Linked DNA regions of Homo sapiens: region 2 is linked to region 1. Evidence: promoter capture Hi-C in human tissues and cell types (Jung and others, 2019). All regions are on one chromosome and are shown on one strand. Each heading gives the region's core, a stretch centred on a gene start or on the middle of the fragment in contact. The rest is flanking DNA. Distances are from core to core; before and after follow the strand shown.

The links. The method cuts DNA at HindIII sites, captures the fragments that hold promoters and counts their contacts. A contact is called where the count stands out against the background at its distance.
Region 2: a contact is called between a fragment that was not itself captured here and the fragment with the promoter of GSTM4 in region 1, in 1 of the 25 tissues and cell types used here (mesenchymal stem cells).

The regions. Positions count from the first base shown.
Region 1 is chr1:109,654,849-109,657,348 of GRCh38, forward strand. It overlaps GSTM4 (glutathione S-transferase mu 4), which reads left to right and starts at 1,251. Exons shown (of 8, transcript NM_000850.5): 1 at 1,251-1,577; 2 at 1,864-1,939; 3 at 2,367-2,431. The coding sequence starts at 1,542. RefSeq lists enhancers at 969-1,018, 1,892-2,477. The HindIII fragment of the contact is 7,232 bases long and covers 1-2,500 here.
Region 2 is chr1:109,939,863-109,947,436 of GRCh38, forward strand. No RefSeq gene overlaps it. Among named protein-coding and RNA genes, the nearest start is that of CSF1, 33 kb to the left of the region's middle. The HindIII fragment of the contact is 5,826 bases long and covers 1,765-7,574 here.

The sequences.
Region 1 (2,500 bases), core at 1-2,500:
CAGGCACCGCTTCTCTCTCCTACACTCAACCCCTCTCCCACTCCACTGCCTCTCAGTGTGCAAAAACAGTAAGAAGTGTCCCGTATTTTCAAAATCTCTCCCCTGTAGTTCCCACCTGACTTCTAGTCGTAGGTGGCCAAAGTACAGTGTTTTTGAAGGATTGTTTTATTCCCAGTGCCTGGAATATGGTAGGATCTCAACAACTGTTGTTTCAATAAAGGAATGACCAAATGGGTGAATACTAATGTAACAATATCAATTCTGTTTCTTTCATAATTATTCTCATAAGTGTTAGCTTTCTTAAAAAATCATCTTCACAATTGGACCTAGACATTTTATCTTTCCCAGCTCAAGATGGATAAACTCAGAATGACAGGCCAGGCACCGTGGCTCATGCCTGTAATCCCAGCACTTTGGGAGGCGGAGGCGGGTGGATCACTTGAGACCAGGAGTTCAAGACCAGTCTGGTCAACACGGTGAAATCCCATCTCTACAGAAAATACAAAAAAGTTAGCAGGGCGTCGTGGCGCTCGTCTGTAATCCCAGCTGCTCGGGAGGCTGAGGCAGGAGAATCGCTTGAGCCCGGGAGGCGGAGGTTGCAATGAACCGAGATCGCCCTACTGCACTCCAGCCTGGGCAACACAGCGAGTCCCCGTTCCAAAAAAAAAAAAAAAAAAAAGACTCAGAATGACACATTCTTAATGTCTTAATGTATAATGAGAAGTATAACTATTCAGAAGTCCAAGCACTTGTGTGTGCATGGTGCTATCGTCTTGCTGTAGGCAAACCTACATGGGAATCCACCTTGACACATAGGCCACTTCCTGAGCCTGGACCCAGTCTCAGAGCTGGGGAACTGGCCCAATGCAAAAGGGTCGGGAGCATCTGCAACAGAGACTGAGCTCTATCAGCTTCGGTGACATAGCCTCCATTCACGCTCCCCAACTCAGCAGAGAGAGCACACCATCAGACTTCTAAGACTTAGTAGCCAAGAAGTGTTGAATTAAACTCTCTGAGACCTCTCTTTAGTCTGACCCTGGCAGCCTCAGTCTCCCAGAGCCTGTGGGAACTCGGCAGCCGAGAGGCAGAAGGCTGGGCGACGTCCGGAGAAGAAGAAACGGGGGAAGAACTTTTCTCTTACGATCTGGCTTTACTCTCACGCGCACAGCCGAGTCCCTGGGGACCCAGCAGAGGTCCGAAGCGGAGCGGGGCGGGGCGGGGCTACGGAAGCTGGCGAGGCCGAGCCCCTCCTAGTGCTTCCGGACCTTGCTCCCTGAACACTCGGAGGTGGCGGTGGATCTTACTCCTTCCAGCCAGTGAGGATCCAGCAACCTGCTCCGTGCCTCCCGCGCCTGTTGGTTGGAAGTGACGACCTTGAAGATCGGCCGGTTGGAAGTGACGACCTTGAAGATCGGCGGGCGCAGCGGGGCCGAGGGGGCGGGTCTGGCGCTAGGTCCAGCCCCTGCGTGCCGGGAACCCCAGAGGAGGTCGCAGTTCAGCCCAGCTGAGGCCTGTCTGCAGAATCGACACCAACCAGCATCATGTCCATGACACTGGGGTACTGGGACATCCGCGGGGTGAGTGAGGGTCCGCTGCACTGTGGGACCGGGCGCGTGGGCGGGAAGTGCCGAGCGGCTGGGGACCGGCTCTAGGGACGGTTCCCTCCTTAGGGCTATCTCTCACAGGAGGGCCTGTGCATGCCTGTGTGTGTGTGTGTGTGTGTGTGTGTGTGTGTGTGTGTGCGTGCGCCGGGGTGGGGGGGGGGTGCAGTGCAGTGTAGACTAGGGGCTCACCTGGTGCAGAGAAAGTCACCAAGTCAGGGACCCTCCATCTCTGACACGACCTGCGGGCCATCTCTTCCAGCTGGCCCACGCCATCCGCCTGCTCCTGGAATACACAGACTCAAGCTACGAGGAAAAGAAGTATACGATGGGGGACGGTAATGACACCCTTGTGTCCGGGCTCTGCCCACTCACGCTGAGTTGGCACCAAGCAACCCATGGTGGCCACCTGTGGCTACCTCTGCAGGCCTCCCCTGCTGGAGCTGCAGGCTGTCCCTTCCCTGAGCCCCGGTGAGGGAGTCCTGTGGCCTTGCAAGGCAGAATGCTGGGGCGGGATGCTGGGCCCCCTGTTTAATTGGGTTGGGTGTCCCTCAGAGCTTCCCTAAACCCTGGAAGCCTTAGCCGTGTGGGGTCCAGAGCCCTCAGCGGGATTCTTTGTCCCTGAACCCTGGGATGTGGGACTGAGTGGTCAGATTCTAGATCCACCTGTCTCAGGGATCTTGCCACTGGTTCCTTGGGAGGGTCCCCGGGAAGGAGGGCTGGGCTCTGGGGAGGTTTGTTTTCACTTCTTCTTCCCCACGGCAGCTCCTGACTATGACAGAAGCCAGTGGCTGAATGAAAAATTCAAGCTGGGCCTGGACTTTCCCAATGTAGGTGCAGGGGAAGGGGCGGTTTTGGGGGAAAGTGCGACGTGTCTCTGACTGCATCTCCTCTCCCCA
Region 2 (7,574 bases), core at 3,428-5,927, 290 kb after region 1:
ACACCTTAAATGTCTGATACTAGGAGAATAGTTATATAATAATAGTTCATCATTTACAGTGGAATTTTATGCAATCATTACCGGTCATAGTTTTTAAAGAATACTGAGTGATATAGGAAATGCTAATCATATAATGTTAAGGAATAAATGAGAATAGAAAATACACATGGGGCTGGGCGCAGTGGCTCATGCCTGTAATTCCAGCACTTTGGGAGGCCAAGGTGGGCAGATTACTAGAGACCAGGAGTTCGAGACCAGCTTGGCCAAGATGATGAAACCCTATCTCTACTAAAAATACAAAAATTAGCTAGGCATAGTGATGCACATCTGTAATCCCAGCTACTCAGGAGGCTGAGGCACAAGAGTCACTTGAACCTGGAAGGTGAAGTTTGCAGTGAACCAAGATCACACCACTGCACTCCAGCCTCAGCGACAGGGCAAGACTCTGTTTCAAAAAATAAATAAATAAATAAGGTAATTCATATATCTGTGCATAGAGAAAAGATTAGAAGGAACCATTAATTGCAAGGAAAAATGACTGTGTTAATGGAGGCTATTACTAAGAGTTAGAATTATGGGTGATTTAATTTCTTTCTTTATTCCTTCTACATTTTCCAATTTTTAATAATACATTTATATTACTTTTGTAATCTGAAAAAATATTTTATAAAACTTGTATTTTTGTAATGAAGTTGTGATTTTTCTGAAGTCATCCACAGCAGGGCCAGGAACTGGTACCAGTCCATAGACTGTTAGGAACCAGGCCGCACAGCAGGAGGTGAGCAGTGGGCCAGTGAGCAAAGCTTCATCTGTATTTACAACCGTTCCCCATTGCTGGCATTACCACTTGAGCTCGGCCTCCTGTCAGATCAGCAGCGGCATTAAATTCTCATAGGAGCACGAACCCTATTGTGAACTGCACATGTGAGGGATCTAGATTGCACACTCCTTATGAGAATCTAATGACTGATGATCTGTCATTGTCTCCCATACCCCCAGATAGAACTGTCTAGTTACAGGAAAACAAGCTCAGGGCTCCCACTCCCTCTACATTACGGTGAGTTGTATAATTATTTTATTATATATTACAATTTAATAATAATAGAAATAAAATGCACAATAAATGTAATGCACTTGAATCATCCCGAAACCATACCCCGCTCCCTGGTTCGTGGAAAAATTGTCTTCCACGAAACCAGTCCCTGGTGCCAAAAAGGCTGGGGACTGCTGATCCACAGAATGGCAAAATGCTACCTTGAGGCAAGATCTAAACATACTAAACAGTGTGGTCATAGAACAAATTGCTAGTCCGTTGCTGGTTGGTCACTGGTTGTTTGATGACTCTGAGTGGTTATTTTGGTCACAGAAATTAGTCTGCTGGTCACGGGAGCCTGGCAAGAGTGGAGAAGGGTTCATTAGGAAGGCCAAGAGAGAAGATCCTTTGGTTCAGCTGGTCTGGCCGGTAGACTTGAGTCTTCAGAAAGCCCAGTCTCACTGCCCTGTGCCCTCTGTCAAATCGTTCACCATGAGACCAAATCACTCACACAGCCACAGAGGCGCGATCCCTCTAGCAGCAAAGATCTCCAGCAGGGCTAGACTAGTGTAGCAGCTATGGGAGGCATGCCCAAGGGTCCTGCCACCAGGACAGCAAGGCCAGACTTGAAATTTGACCAGGACAGAGGAAGATGTGAGATTTCCATTTCTGATTTCAAACTTCTTCTCCTTCCTGGTCGATGTTAACTTACATCAATACCCTGAACAAAGGAGGCATCAGATACTGATCTGTAAGAAAAGAGGATTAGATTTTAGGATCTCTGAAGCCCCTTTCCAGCTCTGACACTCTAATCTTTTCTGGACTGGTTTCCTCCAAATTCTATAAACCATTTAAACTCTAAGAAGAGACATTTTTTGTTTCCTCATTCATAAGTACTAATTTAAATCTATATCCCCACATATAGACCATCTAATTGCAGCAATGTGTCACATACACAAATCTACTCATCATGCCGCTCCACCCTTGGGAGACCACAGATCACTAGGACGACCATTCAATCAACCAGTCTCTTCTATGGTGTTCATGTCTTCCTTTAAGTGGATGATTTATTTTAAAACTTTTTTTCTTTTTATAAAGTTAGCATGAGCTGATAATAGATAAATAGGAAAATACAGAAAACTATAAATAGGAATATAAAAATCACTCTTGGTTGGGCGCGGTGGCTCACGCCTGTAATCCCAGCACTTTGGGAGGCCAAGGTGGGTGGATCACCTGAGGTCAGGAGTTGGAGACCAGCCTGGCCAACATGGTGAAACCCCATCTCTACTAAAAATACAAAAATCAACCGGGTGTGCTGGTACATGCCTATAATCCCAGCTACTTGGGAGGCTGAGGCACAAGAATTACTTGAACCTGGGAGGCGGAGGTTGCAGTGAGCTGAGATTGTGCCACTGAACTCCAGCCTGGGTGACAGAGTGAGACTCCGTCTCAAAAAAAAAAAAAAAATCACTCTTAACCCCACCGTTCAGGAATAACTACTGTCAACATTCTGTTGTATTTCCTTCTAGTATTTTAATAGTATGTTTATATCTTTACATAGTTGATATCATAATGAATGTACAGTATTGATTTTTCACATAATGTCATAATCATGAACATTTTTCCATGTCATTACGATTCTTTGTAGACAGCTTTTTACTCTTTTACCTTCTATGTTTTGTGAATTCAAAGCTTTCAGACAAGGCCAGGGAGGAAAGAGAGTTCATGTGTCTCAGGACTGGGAGAGAGATGATAAGCAGTTCTGGGAACCAAATATTCTGAGCCAAAAATTGAGCCACAAGATCTGACCGAAGTGACCTTGGGTAAATAATTTAATCTCTCTGTGACTCAGTTTCCTCATCTGTAAATTGAGGGTGATAATAGCACAGTTTTTACTTCTAAACTGTCCTGGAAAATGGCACCATCCAAGTTGTAGTTTTTATCATTTGGGAGACACAGGTATTTCAGAAGCTGTTGCTCGGTTGTCAAAACATTTGCATGTCACTGTAATGTAGGGATTGTGGGGTAAAATATTTGAAATCTTAACTGTCTTGGGAGATGTAGAATAAAAGATTACTCCTACCTAGAGGAAAGGGTATGGAGAAGGGAGTGAGGCCGAGGGACAGAAAAAGAGAAAGAGAGAGTCCTTCTAGCAAATTATCAGGGAAGAATACATAGAGGAGGAGACAATTTAAGTGGGCTTTAGAATCTTCCTTAAAAGTCATAACTCTTTGAGTTAAAAGCTCAAATACTGAGGTAGATGAACGTCATCTGACACTCCCTCATCACCAGACTGGAACTCCATTCACAGGGCCTGCCTACCACCCACCACACAGACCAGCAGAGAGAAGGCGCTCAGTTAACGTCTGTAGAGCTGATAAGAGCAAAATGGAAAGAGAAGACGAATACAACTTCCAGAACAATTATTCCCCTTTTTTATTTTTTATTTTTATTTTATTTTATTTATTTATTTTTTGAGATGGAGTCTTGCTGTGTCGCCCAGGCTGGAGTGCAGTGGCGCAATCTCAGCTCACTGCAAGCTCCACCTCCCAGGTTCACACCATTCTCCTGCCTCAGCCTCCTAAGTAGATGGGACTACAAGCCCCCGCCACCATGCCTGGCTAATTTTTTATGGAGTTTCACCATGTTAACCAGGGTGGTCCCGATCTCCTGACCTCGTGATTCGCCCGCCTGGGCCTCCCATAGTTTATTTTTTAACCAAGAACCAAACCCTGAACCAGAATTTTTGTTCTAGTGCAAGTATTCTCCACCAATTTTTCAGCACAATGTTATTCGATATGAGAATATCAGCAGAGGTCCAAGTAGAATGTACTTTAAACAGCATTTGGCTTTTTGGCTCACAGTGAATGCTCATCTGTCCCAGAAACTATTGTCTTCATCCTTTGCATGATTTAACAATTAGCAATTTTCTTTTTGTTTTCCTTTTTTTTTTTTTTTGAGACGGAGTTTCGCTCTTGTTGCCCATGCTGGAGTGCAATGGCGCAGTCTCAGCTTACTGCGACCTTCACCTCCCTGGTTCAAGCGATTCTCCTGCCTCAGCCTCCAGAGTAGCAGGGATTACAGGCACCCACCACCACACCTGGCTAATTTTTGTATTTTTAGTAGAGACAGGGTTTCACCTTGTTGGCCAGGCTGGTCTCAGACTCCTGAACTCAGGTGATCCATCCGCCTCGGCCTCCCAAAGTGCTGGGATTGCAGGCATGAGCCGCCGCGCTGGCCAACAATGAGTAATTTTCTAAAACAAAAAACAAAAACAAAACAAAAAAACTCCAACAGTATTTTTTAAAGGGAAAAAAAACACGAACAAGTTTCAGCTCCTAACTCTGCCTTGTGTTGAAATAGAACTGATGGAGAAAGGAGCAGCGATTGGAGCCACACAACCTGGGTTCTGCTCTGGACACCTTAATGAGGAGCTGGGATGAGGTGGTGGAAGCAAGATTAAGAAGGGCTTATGGAAAAGTTAAGATTTAGCCCTATGAAGGTGCCAACTTCCCCACCACTGAAATTCCTCATCATCTAGAGGTTCAAGTCACCTACAAAGGACGCAGGTTATCCCTTCACAATCAGGGCCCAATCTATCATTTAACCGTTTAACCTCATCTCCAGCCACTCACATTCACATTCACATCTAGTAAATGTTCTTCCTCCTTGCCCTTCCTTGGGCTCTCGCTCCCCTTCCCCTTCTCACATCTACTTCCTGTCCCACCACAACCTGCTAAAATGTCCTTCCTCTAGAAAGCTGTGTTGATCCTGCTAGCTGAGTTCATCTCTTCGGTCACTCCATCTGAATCTCCAGTATGTCTTTTATGTCTTTCTCATATGCCTTCAAGCTACTTAAGTGAGTGTCTTGTGGTTTTTTTATGTCTTCCTCATATGCCTTCAAGCTACTTAAGTGAGTGTCTTGTTTTTCTTATACCTAATTACAATAACACCTTTTATTTCTATAATGCTTTACAGATTACAAAGCAAGTTGGCATATATTTTATCACTTGGTCCTCACATCTGGTGAAGCAGCTCTTTCTATCGTTTACATAGAAGGACCTAAACCCAAAGAGGTTAAATAACTGGTCCAAAGTCATGATAACCCAGAGCTTTTATGCTAGCTCTCCCCTGCTGGACTGGAAGTTCCTTGAGGGCAAGAACCCTGCCTTAATTATTTTCATATCCCATCAAAACCAACACAGGAGCTGGTTCAGAGCAGATGCTCAGTAAATGAATATGTATGACCCTGGCCAATCCCTTCACCTCTCCACACCTCACAGTGCTAGGTAAAGATGTTCTTTACGTCCTTCCCAGATTCCTTTATGGCAAGAGTCAATAGCACCACTTCTCTGTATTCCCTTCTGACACCTGGATGAGCTGCATATCTGCAGGGCAATTGTCAGGATGTCCATTCCATTCTGTGCCTCTTCTTTCACTAAACACTAATGTATTAGTTTCCTATTGCCGATATAACTAATTGCTGCAAACTTAGTCACTTAAAACAACACAAATTTGGCCGGGTGTGGTGGCTCACACCTGTAGTCCCAGCACTTTGGGAGGTCAAGGTGGGTGAATCACTTGAGGTCAGCAGTTCTAGGCCAGCCTGGCCAACATGGTAAAACCTGGTCTCTACTAAAAATACAAAAATTAGCCGGGCGTGATGGCTCAGACCTGTAATCCCAGCTACTCAGGAGGCTGAGGCAGAAGAATTGCTTGAACCAGGGAGGCAGAGGTTGCCATGATCCAATATGGCACCATTGCACTCCAGCCTGGGCAACAAAGTGAGACCCTGTCTCAAAAACAAACAAAAAACCCCCACAAATTGATTCAATTTATTATCTTAAATATCTGGAGTTCAGAAGTCTGAAATTGGTCTCAGTGGGCCAGAGTCGAGGTGTGGGTCGGGCTGGTTCCTTCCAGACACTCTGAGGGGGAATCTGTTTCTTTGACTTTTTCAGCTTCTAGAGGCCTCCTGCATTCCTTGGTGTGCGCTCCCTTCCTCCGTCTTCAACGCTCATCACACCAATTGCAGCTTCTGCCATCACATTGCCTTCTCTTCTGTGGGGAGATCTCCCCCTGCCTTCCTCTTATAAGGACTCTTCTGATCACCTTTAGGGCCCACCTGGGTAAGATGGCATTCCTAGTTTCCAGACACGAGGACCTGGATCTGTTTGGGAGACATTATTCAGCCTACCGCAATTATTATTACACCAACAATTTACCTATTATTTGTATATTTATCTGTATCTCCAGTACACTGTGAGCAACTTGAAGACTAAGACTGTACCTTATCTACCTCTCTATTCTCGTCTCCTAACATGGCTCCTCAGATACAGTAGGTGCTTAATAAATAATGATTGTGTGAATGAACAATCCCATACTTACAGACTTCTATTGCTTGTGCCTTAGGGAGCATCACAGCACAACATTCCAAAGAAATCTAAAGCTAACTTTTTTTTTAAAGCCTTAAAATAAATGTCAGTCTTTAGCACAATTATCTTGGGACATAGAGGAGAAGATTATACAACACATTGCACAGCAAAGCTTCCGAAAAATGCCCTGAAGACATTTCTTCCCTCCTCCAGACCCCTTCACTTAGTCCCTGCACTTGCCCGCCCATCCACTGCCTCAGCCAGCGAAATCTGTAACTTTTCCCAGGGAAAATGCACAAGCATCAGGATTTAATTTTGACACTACCCACTCTCAACCAATGGGCAGGCAATCAGCAGGAAGAAAAAAAAAAAAGCACTATCTACTTCCTAAATTCTTGGATGTGTTTCTCAATCTGTCTCTCACACAGTGAGGTCTTCAAGGCACCCGTGGTCTAGTGCCCAATGACCCCATGACTCCATTTGGGACCAGTCCTGCCTCACTCGAAGCAATTCAAGGAGAACTGCCTCTAGCCAGGGTCCCAAGGCTGACTGTGAGACGGCCTCTGGTGAGGGGAGAAACCTGCCTGGTAGCCCAACTGAGACCTGAAGGCTTAGGGCATCCAACCTTCCCACGCCAGCCTAGCATCTCCAGTGTAAATAACTTGAAGGCTTTCTTTCTTCCTCCTCCCAGATCCTCACTGTTTTGGGTAGCTCTTGGTTATAAATTCCTGATGCTTCTATCTGATCCAAACTTTCTTATTCTCTGAGCTGTGCTCCCAGGCACTTTGCTGCATGGCAAGATAACCTTAGTACAAAATAATGATAGGAGCTTGCAGTTAATGAGAATCCCAATGTGGGAGCTTTCCCTGTTTTGTTGCACCTAAACCTCACTGCATCCCTAAGAGGAAGGTGCTGTTGTTAAACTGAGCCACAGGCGTGTAAGTGACTTGCCCAAGGTCACACAGCTAATAAATGGTAGAGTCAAAATTCAAAGCCAGGGCTGGGTGTGGTGGCTCACACCTGTAATCCCAGCACTTTGGGAGGCCAAGGCGGGTGGATCACCTGAGGTCAGGAGTTCCAGACCAGTCTGGCCAACGTAGTGAAACCCCTTCTCTACTAAAAATCCAAAAATTAGGTGGGCATGGTGGTGCACACCCGTAATCCCA